2 separate regions of the Homo sapiens genome follow, and region 2 is linked to region 1. The links are contacts of gene promoters, found by promoter capture Hi-C in blood cells and fetal thymus (Javierre and others, 2016). All regions are on one chromosome and are shown on one strand. Each heading gives the region's core, a stretch centred on a gene start or on the middle of the fragment in contact. The rest is flanking DNA. Distances are from core to core; before and after follow the strand shown. Region 1 overlaps SARNP (SAP domain containing ribonucleoprotein). Region 2 holds the start of PAN2 (poly(A) specific ribonuclease subunit PAN2).

What was found. Contacts are between HindIII fragments. The CHiCAGO score rates a contact against its expected background, and 5 or more counts as called.
Region 2: a contact is called between the fragment with the promoter of PAN2 here and a fragment that was not itself captured in region 1, in 1 of 17 cell types (naive CD8 T cells). The highest score is 5.4, in naive CD8 T cells.

The regions. Positions count from the first base shown.
Region 1 is chr12:55,812,644-55,816,400 of GRCh38, forward strand. The region is part of intron 1 of SARNP (SAP domain containing ribonucleoprotein); the gene reads right to left. Among named protein-coding and RNA genes, the nearest start is that of SARNP, 3.2 kb to the right of the region's middle. The HindIII fragment of the contact is 3,247 bases long and covers 687-3,757 here.
Region 2 is chr12:56,332,529-56,336,230 of GRCh38, forward strand. PAN2 (poly(A) specific ribonuclease subunit PAN2) reads right to left here and starts at 1,472. Exons shown (of 26, transcript NM_014871.6): 1 at 1,334-1,472; 2 at 285-680. The coding sequence starts at 566. RefSeq lists enhancers at 1,308-1,477, 1,603-1,822, 1,740-1,909 and cis regulatory regions at 1,377-1,408, 1,393. The HindIII fragment of the contact is 11,393 bases long and covers 1-3,702 here.

The DNA.
Region 1 (3,757 bases), core at 1,060-3,559:
CTCCCAACCCAGACTAAAGGTATCACTACCCAAACCCTGGAGTCATCTTTCATTTTTCCCATATCTAACTGATCTATAAATACTTGAAATTCTACTACATCCTAAATGTCTTTCAAATTCATTCCCATTCTTTTGAAGTCTTGACATGCTTATTCACTCAACAAATCGTTATTGAGCACCTACTGTATTATCAAGTATTATCTTGGATACAGGGAAATAATCATGAGCAAAACATAAGAGTCCTTCCCATTCCGAGCTTACAATCTTGCAGAGAACAAACCAATCAATGATCAGATAGCGTTTAGCTGATTTTTTTTTTTTGAGACGGAGTCTCACTCTGTTGCCCAGGCTGGAGTGCAATGGCGCGATCTCGGCTCCTGCAACCTCCGCCTCCTGGGTTCAAGTGATTCTCCTGTCTCAGCCTCCCGAGTAGCTGGGATTACAAGTGCGCGCCACCAGGCCCAGCTACTTTTGGTATTTTTAGTAGAGATGGGGTTTCACCATATTGGTCAGGCTGGTCTCAAACTCCTGACCTCGTGATCTGCCCACCTTGGCCTCCCAAAGTGCTGGGATTACAGGCATGAGCCACCGTGCCCGGCATGTTTAGCTGATTTTTTAAGAACACACAGGGTCTTATGAAATTATATAAAAAGTGGCCTGACCATGTTTGTGGATAGAACATAGAAAGCTTCCTTGGGTAAATAATATTTGAGTGAAACACCTGAAAGGGGTGTAGTAATTAATTAGATAAACGTGTTAGGGAGGAAGGGCAGCCGGAGTACTACAGCCGAAAGAAAACTCCAATTGCAGCATATGTGAAGGTTCTAGGTTGAGGTAAGAGGGAGAAGCAGTGTGCAATGATTAGAACATGAATTTTGGACACAGGCTGCCTGGAATTTTTTTTTTTTTTTTTTTTTTGAGACGGAGTTTCACTTTTGTTGCCCAGGCTGGAGTGCAATGGTGCCATATCGGCTCACCGCAACCTCCACCTACGCGGTTCAAGTGATTCTCCTGCCTCAGCCCCCCGAGTAGCTGGGATTACAGGCATGTGCCATCACGCCCAGCTAATTTTGTATTTTTAATAGTGACGGGGTTTCTCCATGTTGGTCAGGCTGGTCTCGAACTCTCGACCTCAGGTGATCCGCCTGCCTCGGCCTCCCAAAGTACTGGGATTACAAGCGTGAGCCACTGCACCCAGCCTGCTTGGATTTAATATACAACATTTTAGCTGTGCAACCTAAGGCAAGTTACTCAGTTACTCTCTCTGAGCTATGGTTTTTCTTATTTTCAAATGAGGATAATACAGGTATTTACCTTACAGGGTTATTATGAGAATTAAATCAGTTAGTGTATGTAAATGGCTTCAAACAGTGCTTTGCCACATAACAAATGCTAAGTGTTGGCAATTGATGAAGCATTCTGAAGAAATTAAATAAAATAAGGCCACAGTAGTTGAAGAGTTAGTAACTATGCTGGAGAGACGGGCAGGGATATAATTTAAAGGTTTTAAGCAGGGGAATGACTCCTATAATAAATATCTAAGTGGTGAAATCGCTCCCCCTACAAATCCCATCCGCCAAGAGAATACAAGCTGATCACATCAAGCTCCTCCTTTCAAACTTCCAAAGGCTCCCAGCCCTACTTCTTACATGACAAAGGCCAGAAGTCCTTACATAACTTAGAAAGCCCTTTTCAATATCACTCTGATTTACCTTTATAGTTTACCTATTTTCCTTTCCAAACTATCTTCAACTACCAATATATTTCCTCACTTCACTTTTCAATACAAATGTCTCACTATTCTCAACACTCTGACACTACTATCACTTTCTCCTCTCCTCTGCAATAGTTCCTTTTCTAATGTTTGACTGGATATCTGATACTGTTACAGTTCAAGCCATTTTCATCCACAGTTCAATCTCTCTTTCCAAATGTGTTAGTATGGGCCAGGAGTGGTGGCTCATGCCTATAATCCCAGCACTTTGGGAGGCCAAGGCAAGAGGATCACCTGAGGTCAGTCAAGTCCAGCCGGACCAATAACATGGTGAAACCCCATCTCTACTAAAAATACAAAAATTAGCCAGGCATGGTGGCACGTGCCTGTAATCCCAGCTACTCGGGAAGCTGAGGCACGGGAATTGCTTGAACCTGGAAGGCGGAGGTTGCAGCGAGCCGAGATCTTGCCACTGCACTCCAACCTGGGCGACAGAGCGAGACTCCATCTCAATTTAAAAAAAAAAAAAAAAGAATGACTGCATTTCTACAAAATCCTCAGAAATTTGCTGTTGATATGACATTACATATCAACTCAGATACATACTATGTTTCCTTCCTGCTTCAAAAGGTATTCCCTTCCCCTGAGGTTCCATACCAAAGCCCAAAATTCTCTTTATGACAATGGAGAGATTTTTTTATTTTCTTTTTTTTGAGACAAGGTCTCCCTTTGTCACCCAGGCTGAAGTGCAGTGGAGCAATTATCACACAGCTGACCACAGCCTTGGCCTCCCAGGCTCAAGCAATCCTCCCACTTCAGCCTCCTGAGGAGCTGGGACTACAGGTGTGTGCCACCATGCCCAGCTAATTTTTTAATTTTTTTTGTAGAGACAGGGTCTCACTATGTTACCTAAGCTGGTCTCAAACTCCTGGCCTCCGCCTCCCAAAGAGTTGGGATTACAGGTGTGGGTCACTGCACCCAGCCAAGATTTTTTTTTAAGGCAATAAAACCCCAAGTCAACCCAGAAGTCAGGATCATTGCATCAAGATCACCAGTGGAACCAAACATTAATTGTCCTAAAAATCAGAATCAAAGGCATGAGTTCTTTTTTTCTTTTTGAGACGGAGTCTCACTGTCCCCCAGGCTGGAGTGCAGTACACCATCTCGGCTCACTGCAACCTCCAACCCGGGCTCAAGCGATTCTTGTGCCTCAGCCTCCTCACAGCCTCCTCAATAGCTGGGACTACAGGCACTTGCCACCACACCTGGCTAATTTTTGCATTTTTGGTAGAGGCGGGGTTTCGCCATGTTGCCCAGGCTGGTCTCGAACTCCTGGCCTCAAGCAATCCGCCCGCCTAGGCCTCCCAAAGTGCTAGGATTACAGACGTGAGCCACCACGCCCAGCTAAAGGCATGAGTTCTTAACCAGAGGTCCATGGACTCCTCGGGGCTACAAGGTAGTTTTATGAAGCCCCTCAAACTGCATGCAAAATATGTGTACATGCCTTTTTCTGGGGAGAGGGTCCATACCTTTCATCAGAGTTTCAAAGATATCTGTGACCTCCAAAAGGTTAAGAAGTGCTCTAGAGAAAAAGCAAAGACAAGCAAATGTGATTAAAGAGCAAGTCCTTTTTAGGCTGTCAGGAGTGCCTAATGTTCTCTTAGACTGTAACACTGAAATCAGGTCAGAGGACTTTACGTAAAAGTTACTTATCCAATCAAATACAAATTTTATATAGACCTGACAAATACAGATTTGATGGAAGGAGGAACTCCATAAACCAACACAATCTATAAATGCAAGTAAGTCATCGGGCAGCTGGTGACTTACTCCAGGGATTTCAAAAATAGGACAAATAGGAAGAAAATATTAGCTCTTCTATATATAGTTCCTTTTTATCTCATTCAAAAATTCCTTTTCTGTGTTATATTTTATAACAGTCCAGAAGTATACAATTTCTATAAGTACAGTATATATAAACAAAGTGGAGATGATTGCTCAATTTTTTTTAACTCATCACAATAAAGATCAAGAGACCGCTGA
Region 2 (3,702 bases), core at 222-2,721, 520 kb after region 1:
AGGCTGCAGTGAGCCATGATCACATTACGCCATTGCACTCTGGCCTAGGCGACAGAGCAAGACCCTGTCTCGAAAAAAAAAAAAAAAAAAAGGGATGCCTCCTGAGAAAGAATATGTCATTTACTCCTAGATCCTAGATTCTCCCTTTATCCCTCCAACCAGACCCAGCTGTCTCATCACTACAACTCCTCGGTACTGGCTATCTGCAAAGCAGCTTCCTTGGGTTAAGACCAGATAAAGACCTTCAACATCTTTCAACCCTCACAAAGGGGTACAGTTCTTACCCCGTGGCTCCCCACCCACAGCATCTCCTCGTGCAAGTCAAAGTGGGAGACGGAAACAGGTACACCCACTTCAGCCACCACGCTGTGCAATTCAGAGTAGACACCTTCCATTATGTGCACTGATTCCTGGACGGGAAGAGCCTCCAAGGCCACTCCCTCTGGGTCCAGCTCCACATTCTGTAGCAGACTTGGGTTCAGGTGGGCATCCAAGACAGGGTCCAGGGCAGAATGCATGGCTGGGGCATATTCTGCCAGTCCAGGGTCCAGACCCTCAAAGTTCATGATGACGATGGCAGCTTACACCTGTGTCACACCCTCCCTTACCACAGTCCCTTTAGATGCCTGACCCAACCTTCAGCAAGACAGCACCGATGGGCCTAGAATGGACATCCTGGCCTGTAAGGGGAAAGAGGTAGCTGAGTCAAGGGTAGGCCCAGGTACTGGTACTTAGGGTCTTCTAGGTTATGGGGGCAGGAGGGAGATGAGGCAGGCATGAGGGATGAGACTGCCAGCCAAAGGATGAAGCAGGCGGGGGAGGGATGGGCAGTGGGGGTGGAGGTGGTAGAACTGTTGTCCCTATCCCTCCTCCGCTAGGCCCTCTGTACTCTCCACCACCCCATTATCTAACCTAATCCTTGACTTCCCTTTCTTCTCACTTCGGACTGCTCACTTGCCTTGTTCAGCCCTGAATCATCAGGTGAAGGGAGCGAGAATTGCGGGGGTTGGAGTTAGGTAGAGGGATTTAAGGTGCTTTCTCCCAGAATTGGGGGTGAAAACGGGTGGATTGGACGGTGGGGAGAACGAGAAGTCAGTTTCCTAGAATCCTCTCCAATAGCTACCCAGGATTCTCTAGAGGAAAACAATAATGGCCAGTTACCCACAATTGGGGCGGGGGCAGGGGAAGGTGACGGAAACGGCTAGTTACCCAGAATTCTCTGGGGGAACCAGAAAAATCGGTTATCTAGAATTCTCCCACGGCAGCGGTGAGGAGGGGGATAGGGCAAGGGTCAGATGTGTTCCTGGGATGCTTACGGGGAATGGGTCATTACCAAGATTTCTCCATGGCGGATATTTTGGAGCGCGTGGAATTAGAACGAGTAGGGGGAGCGCAAGCGCTGTCAGCTCCGCGGGAAATTCCAGTTTCCCCAGTTCTCCCCCACGCCTAGGGCTCAACCTAACCACTACGGCGCCAAGGACCGGGGTCCGAGGCGCTTCTTCCAATCAAGAAGGGCTCGGGGCATATTTTAGCCAATCAGAAGGGCTCCGGGCGCATCTAAGCCAATCAGAAGGAGCCAGGTACGGCGACCCCAGGAGAGAGCGTGTGACGCACGCGCCGGAAAAAGAGGTTACGGGGCGCCGGTGGGACAAACGCAGCCAGACGCCGGACTTGTTGGGTGGCGTTAGAAAGTAACTCTGTTTTTAGTCTTCTTGAACAAAATTACGTCTAGGTTTGAAAACCAAACTTTTATGCTTTCTATAACTTTAGGAACTCTAAAATAAGGGACACACAAGGCAAAGCACTAGGAGTCGCTGTTGGGTATTCCCAGCGGGGCTTAGTCTACCTCCTCTTCCTGCGGTGCCCTAGTGAGCCACTCCGCCACCTCTGACCCTGTTGCCCCCAAAACTCGCTGGCATTTCCTATTATTTCCAGATATGGGAGAGAAAAAAAAGGAAGCGGGAGCCGGACTCCTGACACAGTCCAAGTGGCTGCATCTTCTACAGGCATCCATCTGAAACTCCCATCCGTGATTGTTCCCTCCCCAGAGACCCCGGTAACATTCCCGGGTAACAAGATGCCCCTGGTTATCAAATTCCCCTAGCTCTTGAGGCTGGCTGGACGTTATCCCTCAGAGGGGGATGAGCATGGCAAATTGGGACTTGTTATTCTGAAGGATTCGTGGGTCCTGTGAACTCTAATTACTTTGAAATGGGTCTAGGTTGTGAGATGTCTCAGAGCACTTTAGCTCAGCTGTTATTACTGTTTCTAAAGGCCACATAAAGGGACTCTGATGGGAGACATTCCTCATGGAGGATTCAATTCTATAACATTTCTCTCAATAAAGGCTGGTAAATAGACCTTCATTAAAGGAACCAAGAATTTAAATTTCTAGGACTCAGAGGGGTGGGGTCCTATACCCAGTCAGAGATCCTACCTAGAGCCTAGACCAAGAGAAAAACACAGATGGTCTCTCAAACTGATTTGATCTGACTTCGCAGGTCATTAGATATAGAATCTCCGAAAAAGGTGGATGCTGAGAGACATAGACAGTTCCTACACTTTAAGAAATCTCCATCTTGAGGTCTCAAATTGAGAAAGACTTAACAGACCCATGAGAGTTACAGATCCCTAATAACCTGGGCTAAATAATCCATGTCTGCCGGGCGCAGTGGCTCACGCCTGTAATCCCAGCACTTTGGGAGGCCGAGGTGGGCGGATCACCTGAGGTCGGGAGTTCGAGACCAACCTGACCAATATGGAGAAACCCCGTCTCCACTAAAAATACAAAATTAGCCGGGCCTGGTGACGGGAGCCTGTAATCCCAGCTACTTGGGAGGCTGAGGCAGGAGAATCATTTGAACCTGGGAGGCGGAGGTTGCAGTGAGCCGAGATGGCACCATTGCACTCCAGCCTGGTCAGTAAGAGCGAAACTCCGTCTCAAAAAAAAGAAAAAAAAAAAGAAAAGAAAAAAGGATACTGTGAGGAGACACAAGAGCATCCATGACATAGATTATTTAGCTCAGCTGTAATTACTGTTTCTAATACAGTAATATTAGATGGTGATCTGCCTGCCTCGGCCTCCCAAAGTTCTGGGATTACAGGTGTGAGCCACCGCGCCCAGCCTTTTTTTTTTTTTTTTTTTGAGACAGGATCTCACTCTGTTGCCCATGCTTAAGCGCATTGGCCCTCTCACTCACTGTAGCCTCAACCTCCTGGGCTCAAGCGATCCTCCCACTTCAGCCTCCCAACTAGCTGTAACTACAGGCACTGGCCACCAAACCCAGATAATTTTTTTTTTCCTGTAGAGGTGGGGTTTTGCCACGTTACCCAGGCTGGTCTTGAACTCTTAAGCTCAAGCGATCCTCCTGCCTCGGCCCCCCAAAGTTCTGGGATTACAGGCATGAGCCACCATACCTGGCGTACAGTATCCAGTGTAATGCAGTGATTAAAAATTCAGGATCCAGACCGGGATGGTGGCTTGTGCCTGTAGTCCCAGGGGTGGAGGTTGCAGTGAACGGAAATGGTGCCACTGCATTCCAGCCTGGGTGACAGAGTGAGACCCTGTCTCAACAAAACCCCCCAAAAACCAAGAACAAAAAAGAATGCAGGATCTGATGCTAGATTGTCTGCATTAGAACTCTAGCCACTTAAGCTGGGTGTGGTGGCTCATGCCTGTAATCCCAGCACTTTTGGAGGCCG